Linked DNA regions of Homo sapiens: region 2 is linked to region 1. Evidence: promoter capture Hi-C in 16 types of primary human blood cells and fetal thymus (Javierre and others, 2016). All regions are on one chromosome and are shown on one strand. Each heading gives the region's core, a stretch centred on a gene start or on the middle of the fragment in contact. The rest is flanking DNA. Distances are from core to core; before and after follow the strand shown. Region 1 holds the start of ZDHHC12 (zDHHC palmitoyltransferase 12). Region 2 overlaps DYNC2I2 (dynein 2 intermediate chain 2).

Region 1 (4,028 bases), core at 445-2,944:
CTCAGGCTAGTCAAAGGTGGGAATTGGGGCCAGGCATGGTGGCTCACACCTGTAATCCCAGCACTTTGAGAGGCTGAGTTAGGCAGATCACTTGAAGTCAGGAATTCGAGACCAGCCTGGACAACATAGTGAAACCCTGTCTCTACTAAAAATACAAAAATTAGCTGGGCGTGGTGGCATGTGCCTGTAACCCCAGCTACTTGGGAGGCTGAGGCAGGAGAATCACTTGAACTTGGGAGGTGGAGGTTGCAGTGAGCCCAGATCGCGCCACTGCACTCCAGCCTAGGCAACAGAGTGAGGCTCTGTCTCAAAAAAAAAAAAAAAAAAAAGGTGGGCATTCATTGACTCTTGCAACCAGGGGATGCAGAGTCAGTATCAGCTTCAGGGACAGCCGGATCTAGAGGGCTCAGACAATGTTGTTCAGACCATCTCTTGCTCCCTCCTTTAGTGCTGCTTATCCATCTCTATGTGTCTTTATAAGTTGGTCTCATTTTCTCCAGCCACAGACAGGGTAAGCCCTCTCCGCCCAGCGTAAAGACGGCTCCCAGTTGCCTTATATCCCATTCCTTAGGCTTGAGATCCAAAAGAATGCTCCTTCCTCTCAGCATCTAGACAGTAATCTCATGGAAGGCCTGTGATTGGTTCTGCAGAGTCGAAAGCCCACAGCCTGCCGCTCGCCATCCTATGGGGTGAGGGGCAGTCCCTCCAATCACATGGGATGGGAAGTCGATTCCCCAACCAAAAAAAGGATGTTGAGCTGAGAAAAACAACAGATGTCAGAGGAGTATCCTGGAGGAGCTGGGATGGGGCCAATCAGAGGGAGGCGGAGGAGGATGCTGGTATCAGTGGGAGGTGCTGTGGAAAGGCGGGGCTGAGTGGAGAAGGCCCTGGGGACACAGGGAAGGAGGACAGCCTGCAGCCTCCGGTGAGGAAAGTCCGCCTGTAGGTGGTGGCTCACAGCAGGAGAGGCAAGACAGTCCCGTGCTAGACAAGGCGCTTCCATTATTTAATCCTCCCAAACACCTTAGGAGGAAGACACTATTGTAATCCCCCTTATAGAGACAGAAAACAGCTCAGAGGGGCTCAGTAACTCGCCCAGGGTCACACAGGTAGGAAGGGGCAGTGCTGGGATTTCTGACTCCCGCCTAAGTTGGATCACCCATAGTCAGAATGTGCACCACGTACCTCCACTTTTCTCTCGTCCGTTTGCAATATCTGAGAATACATAGCAAGGAGGTAAAGCTGTCACCACAGAGCAACCTTGGGCGAGCCTTGGCCCTCTCGAGACTTTAGTCATCACATCTTTGAAATGGGTACAATTTTGCCTCCCGGACTCACAGCAAGCCGCTGGATCTTCGAAGCGCCCAGGGAGCTACGCGCATGCGCGAGGCTGCGAGGGCGGGCACAGGGGAACGCGGGGGAGGGCACAGCGGAGCGCGGGGGAGGTGCGCGCGCGCTCCGGCGCTTTCAAAAGTTACCTGGCGGGTGGGGCTGGAGTTGAGGGAGTTACCAGCTGCGCGCGCGCCGGCCCCACCCTCAGCCTCTTCAGGCACCTGTTGGCTTGAGGGTCCATTCGGCCGCAGATGCCATCCAATAGGCAGCCTCCCTGACCCAGTCCGGCCCCGCCCAACGCCTAGATCCACCAGTCCCCGGGCGGCGGCGTTCCCCTCCCTCGGAGGGCCCGCCCCTCTGGGCGCTTCTTCCGGGTGGGGCCCCGGGCCGAGGCGATGGCGCCCTGGGCGCTCCTCAGCCCTGGGGTCCTGGTGCGGACCGGGCACACCGTGCTGACCTGGGGAATCACGCTGGTGCTCTTCCTGCACGATACCGGTGAGCCGGACCCCGAGCGACCCCGGACCCACCCGATCCCGCGTACTTCCCCAGACGTTCTGGTCACACTGGGTCTCCCGCCTAATCCCTGGAGATCCTGGGATTGGCCCGATCTCCACCAGCTCCTGAAGCCCTCTCCCCATCTATCATTCCAAGAGCCACCTGCTCTCTGTCTGATACCCCGTTGATCCCTAATTAATCCCAGCATCTTCCTGATCATTGCCAAATGCCCTGTCCATCCCAGGACCCAGCCGGTGCCCACCAGATCCAAGGACCGACTTGAGCCCCATGTCCCCTGATCCTGGGACCCACATGATCCTTCCCAGGAACTGACCCCAAATCTTCCTATCCATACGATTAGGAGGCTCAACTAGATGCAAAGATTGGCATTCTGCCCACACCCACACCCCCCACACCCCCATGGCCACTAGCTGCCCAAGTCCAGGCAAACCCTCAGGCCAGAGAACACTCCATGGGGTGCGGCCTGTCTCCCATCTTCCCACAGATTCACCCACCCACCCACCTCCATTTCCCTCATTCCTCTTAGTAGCCCCCTACCCAGCGCCTCACCTGCCACAGGCAGCCTCCCCCACTGTCCCCCACAGCAGACCCCAGCCCTCCTTCCATGGCGGTCCAGCCTCAGTTTCTGGACTGGGGCCCCTTCTGGCTTTCCTCCCAAGACAGACCTCCTCCACCACCTTCACCCTTTAGCCTAAAAACTTGCTCAGGTCTCCGTATCAGAAAACCCCCCTCAAAACCCACCCTTTCTTCTCTGCTCCCCCTTACAACCAAGGGACACAGGATTTGTCTACACTCTGCTGTCTGGTGGTCTCATGCCCCCTCACTCCTTGCCCTGCACCCTACCTCCCCAAAATCCTGTCACCTCCCTGGGCTGAAGCCTGCTGGACCCTTCCGTATGCCCCTCTGCAGCATCTGAGCCTGCCAGCTGCACCCTTCCCACTGTATCTCTCTCAGGCATTTCAGACCTAACCAGTCTCTCACCATTGCAGAGCCAGAGACGCTGGACCCCTCTTCCCTCTCTCCCACATCCAGTCAGGTCTGGCTCCCTTGACCCAGCAGCCCCCTGTCCATTCCTTCCTCCCTCACTTCCTGCCAGGCCTTTGTAGCGACTCTCTTCTTCCTCCTGGCCAGATTCTCTGCCCCCAGGCTTCCCCTGATCCATTTCTTTAGCAATGAGGTTTTCCAAAACAGATCTGGCTCTATAACCTTCCATGGTTCCCTCTGACCCTCCAGATAAAAGTGCAGATGAACTGCTGGCCACACACAGCCACTCATGGAACCAACATCTCCAGGCCTTTGCTCAGCCAGGAACACACTTCCCCACCTCCAACTGCACCCCAACCCCACCCACTCCTGTTCTACCCGGCCCAGCCTCACTGTGCTCTCCGGCCTCTCCAGAGCTGCGGCAATGGGAGGAGCAGGGGGAGCTGCTCCTGCCCCTCACCTTCCTGCTCCTGGTGCTGGGCTCCCTGCTGCTCTACCTCGCTGTGTCACTCATGGACCCTGGCTACGTGAATGTGCAGCCCCAGCCTCAGGTAACCAGGGGCCCCTACTCTCACCAACAGGGACCTAACAACCAGCACCAGTCTCCATGCCAGGCTCTGTGCTGCAGGCTCTTGTGGGAGCAGTTCAGTGACTCCTCTTGCCACCCCTAGAGCCCCATCTACAGTAGTGAGGAAACTGCTGGGCCCCAGAGAAGGAAGAGACTTGCAAACATACACAGCCGCCCTCAGTCCAGGGTGCTCCGCCATACCCCACACCTCCATTCTGCATGGGATGGGTCCCAAACTCCATACCCAGAGCTAAGCCGGCCCCTAGGGGAGCTGCCCGCCAATGCCATCTGTCTCCCAAGGGGACCCTGTCTTACACCCCACCCCTCATTCCAGGAGGAGCTCAAAGAGGAGCAGACAGCCATGGTTCCTCCAGCCATCCCTCTTCGGCGCTGCAGATACTGCCTGGTGCTGGTGAGTGATGCACGGACACCCGTGGGAGAGGTTGGGCCAAAGCTGAGACTCCTCGACCTCCTCCTGCCCCACTGCCTGGGCCTCGCCCCTCCTCCAAGAAGGCCTTCCAGAATCAGGCCCTGATTCCTTCCCTCAGTGGTGGGCCCACAGCAGGGCTGGCACTGAGCCTCCACTCTCCTCCATGCCCACAGCAGCCCCTGAGGGCTCGGCACTGCC
Region 2 (4,028 bases), core at 521-3,020, 83 kb after region 1:
TAATTTTTTTTTTTGAAATGGAGTCTCGCTCTGTCACCCGGGCTGGAGTGCAGTGGCACAATCTCGGCTCACTGTAAGCTCTGCCTCCCAGGTTCACGCCTTCCCGAGTAGCTGGGACTACAGGCACCCAGGACCATGCCCGGCTAATTTTTTTGTATTTTTAGTAGAGACGGGGTTTCACCGTATTAGCCAGGATGGTCTCGATCTCCTGACCTTGTGATCCGCCCGCCTCGGCCTCCCAAAGTGCTGGGATTACAGGCGTGAGCCACTGCGCCCGGCCTCAATAAGTAATTTTTTTTTTTTTTTTTTTTTTTTGAGAAAGTCTCCTACCATAGGCCAGGCTGGAGTGCAGTGGCATGATCTCGGCTCAGTGCAACCTCCGCCTCCCGGGTTCAAGCAGTTCTCCTGCCTCAGCCTTCTGAGTAGCTAGGATTACAGGCACGCGCCACCACACCCGGCTAATTTTTTTTTTTTTTTTTTTTGAGACGGAGTCTTGCTCTGTCGCTCAGGCTGGAGTGTAGTGGCACGATCTTGGCTCACTGCAAGCTCCGCCTCCTGGGTTCACGCCATTCTCCTGCCTCAGCCTCCCGAGTAGCTGGGACTACAGATGCTCGCCACTATGCCCAGCTAATTTTTTGTATTTTTAGTACAGATTGGGTTTCACCGTGTTAGCCAGGATGGTCTTGATCTCCTGATCTTGTGATCCGCCCGCCTCGGCCTCCCAAAATTCTGGGATTACAGGCGTGAGCCACCGTGCCCGGCATTTGTGTGTGTGTGTGTGTGTGTGTGTGTATGTATATAAATGAACATCTGCTTTGTGCCAAATACCATGCAAAGTGCTGGGGATACAAAGATCAGACAAGAGTCTTATGCTGGGGGGCTGGCGGTTCAGTAGGACACAGACAAGCAGAGAGAACTGAGTGGCCTGTGGAGGTGAGGGTGGGTACCAGTGCTGAGGCCTGTGTGTTCAGAAGAGAACTGTCCTGGTGAGTCCTGCCCTCTTCCTCCGGGCTTGCCTCCTGGCCCAGCTCGAATCCCGCATGAGATGGGAAGGAGGGAGTGTGGCAGTCCAGGGCCTTGTCATTGTCCCTTGAGCAGCCACCCGAGGAGAGCCCCTCACAGATAGCAGCAATCACCATGATTGCTTCCGCCCAGAGAGCCTTGGTTTGGTGAAGATTGGGCATGTCTGTAAGAAAGGGAGGCTGGCCTCTCCTGCCCTGTTCTGATGTTTGTACCTGTGCCAGGTACAGCTAAGCAGGGGACCAGGAATAGTAGGCGTGGTGGCAGGGTGGAGAGCAAGGCCTCTGGGGGCAGTGCTCTGCCTCCCACCTAGCAGCTCATAGTGGATGCTGAAGCTGCTGTTGCTTACCCGGGTGCTGGGAGGGCTGCCCGTTGAGGGAGGGCCTGGTGGTGTGAAGCTGGGGTGTTCATGGGCATCAGACCATGTGTCTGCCAGGGTGCTGCTGTGAGCCGATGTGGTTCTGCCTGCCCTCCGCATCTTCAGAAAGGGAGCCCTCTGACTCCTCCGAATTGTTGCACCAAAAGTCTTGGGGCAGGGTCTCACTGGCCTGTGTTGGTCACTTGGCCAGCCCTGAATTGGTCACTGTGGCTGAGGTAGGGACACGGTGCTCTGATTGGCTGGCACTGATTGGTTGTGGGACATAGGAGAATCAAGGGGCCATCTCCAACCAAGACCTCACTGAGAGAGGCCCCTAGCCTGAGACCCACAGCAGCAAGGAGGGGGTCAAGCAGGAGGGGCAGGCAGGGGGCTGGGTGGGGGCTGTGCGAGGACAGCTGGGTGGTGACACTTGTTTTCACCCTCCCCCCAGAAAAGTTGCCAGACGGCCAGCATTGCCACTGCCAGTGCATCCGCCCAGGCCAGGAATCATGTGGACGCCCAGGTGCAGACGGAGGCCCCCGTGCCTGTCAGCGTGCAGCCCCCGTCCCAGTATGACATACCCAGGCTCGCAGCCTTTCTTCGGAGAGTGGAGGCCATGGTCATCCGAGAGCTGAACAAGAATTGGCAGAGCCACGCGTTTGATGGCTTCGAGGTGAACTGGACCGAGCAGCAGCAGATGGTAGGGGATGGGCTGGTGCAGCCTCGGGTCGAGCCCCTGCCCCACTTCTGTCTCCTCTTGTTTTCCTTCCCACAAATAACAGCCGTGCCAGTCATCATCACGGCCAGCAATCACCAGGCTCTAATGTCCTGCCTGGTACTGCGCTAGGTTCCCTAAGAATAAGTCAGTGAGCCTTCACTGCTGACCTTGAGGTCGGTATTGTTCTGTCCACTTTACAGTTAGGGAGATGGACACCCTATATGGAAGTAACGTCCAGAGTGAAACTGAGCAGCTGAGCAGTGGAGGCAGGCTAGAGTCTGGGTGGCCCGGCTGCCCTGCCTCCCCATGTACGGTGCAGTGAGGGCCTTCTTTGGGCCAGGCACAGTTTAAGAATGTCTCCTTGGCCAGGTGTGGTGGCTCACGCCTGTAATCCCAGCACTTTGGGAGGCCGAGGCGGGCGGATCACAATGTCAGGAGATGGAGACCATCCTGGCTAACACGGTGAAACCCCGTCTCTACTAAAAATACAAAAAAAAATTAGCCGGGCGTAGTGGCAGGTGCCTATAGTCCTAGCTACTCTGGAGGCTGAGGCAGGAGAATGGCGTGAGCCCGGGAGGTGGAGCTTGCAGTGAGCTGAGGTCACGCCACTGCACTCCAGCCTGGGCAACAGAGCGAGACTCTGTCTCAAAAAAAAAAAAAGAATGTCTCCTGTGGTATCTTCTTCACTCCTCAAAACAACTGTATGAGGCTGGGCACAGTGGCTCACGCCTGTAATCCCAGCACTTTGGGAGGCCAAGGTGGGTGGATCACCTGAGGTTGGCAGTTCGAGACCAGCCTGGCCAACATAGTGAAACCTCCTCTCTACTAAAAATACAAAAATTAGCCAGGCGTGGTGGTGCACGCCTGTTGTTCCAGCTACTCGGGAGGCTGAGGCAGGAGAATCACTTTAACCCGGGAGACGGAGCTTGCAGTGAGCTGAGACTGTGCCACTGCACTCCTGCCTGGGTGACAGAGCAAGACTCCATCTCAAAAAAAGACAAAAAAACAACAAAAAAAAACTGTATGAGGTAGTGCTATTATAATCTTCAGTTTATAGATGAGGCTGAGAGAGGCTAAGTGACATATCCAGGTCCACACACACAGCTCCAGAACTTGAACCCCAGTCTCTCTGGTTTCACTGCCATGCTCTGGGTCATCTGCCCTCCAAGTACAGTCCAGAGTCATGACCCTGTAAATGCTGATGGGCAGTTGGGCAGACAGTATTGGGTTTGAGATGAGGGAGCTTTTGTCTTTTTCTTTTTTTTTTATTTTTTTGAGACAGAGTCTCGCTCTGTCACCCAGGATGGAGTGCAGTGGCATGATCTTGGCTCACTGCAACCTCTGCCTCCCGGGTCCAAGCAATTCTCCTGTCTCAGCCTCCTGAGCAGCTGGGATTACAGGCACCCGCCACCACGCCCGGCTAATTTTGTATTTTTGGTAGAGATGGATTTCACCATGTTGGTCAGGTTGGTCTCGAATTCCTGACCTCAGGTGATCTGCCTGCCTTGGCCTCCCAAAGTGCTGTGATTACAGGCGTGAGCCACCTCGCCTGGCCAAAAAAATTTTTTTAGAGTTAGGGTCTTCCTATGTTGCCCAGGCTGTAGTTCAGATGGGCTCAAGAGATGCTCCTGCCTCAGCCTCCTGAGATGATTTTTTACAAAGTATAAACATTCCTTGAACCAAAATCCAGATCAAGAAAGTGAACATTACAAGGCCTGTAAAAGCTTCCTTCCACCTCCTAGCCCATTGTATAGCTTTGTTTGAAAATAATAGGTTCATGCGTGTTGTGGCTTGGGTTGGTGCTGCGTTCCTTTTTACAGCTGCATGGTGTTGCATGGACAGACCACATTCATTTAGCCACTCATCAGCTAATGGACATTTGGGCTATTCCCCTTTTTGGCTATAGTGAGTCATGCTCTTGTGGACATTGGT

Evidence for each region. Contacts are between HindIII fragments. The CHiCAGO score rates a contact against its expected background, and 5 or more counts as called.
Region 2: a contact is called between a fragment that was not itself captured here and the fragment with the promoter of ZDHHC12 in region 1, in 1 of 17 cell types (endothelial precursors). The highest score is 5.2, in endothelial precursors.

What each region holds. Positions count from the first base shown.
Region 1 is chr9:128,721,793-128,725,820 of GRCh38, reverse strand. It overlaps ZDHHC12 (zDHHC palmitoyltransferase 12), which reads left to right and starts at 1,694. Exons shown (of 5, transcript NM_032799.5): 1 at 1,694-1,827; 2 at 3,247-3,383; 3 at 3,735-3,812; 4 at 4,004-4,028. The coding sequence starts at 1,728. ZDHHC12-DT (ZDHHC12 divergent transcript) reads right to left here and starts at 1,359. Exons shown (of 2, transcript NR_046240.1): 1 at 1,186-1,359. RefSeq lists a silencer at 1,326-1,805. The HindIII fragment of the contact is 13,716 bases long and covers 1-4,028 here.
Region 2 is chr9:128,638,741-128,642,768 of GRCh38, reverse strand. DYNC2I2 (dynein 2 intermediate chain 2) reads left to right here. Exons shown (of 9, transcript NM_052844.4): 2 at 1,830-2,078. Among named protein-coding and RNA genes, the nearest start is that of DYNC2I2, 16 kb to the left of the region's middle. RefSeq lists an enhancer at 1,307-1,911. The HindIII fragment of the contact is 4,104 bases long and covers 1-3,822 here.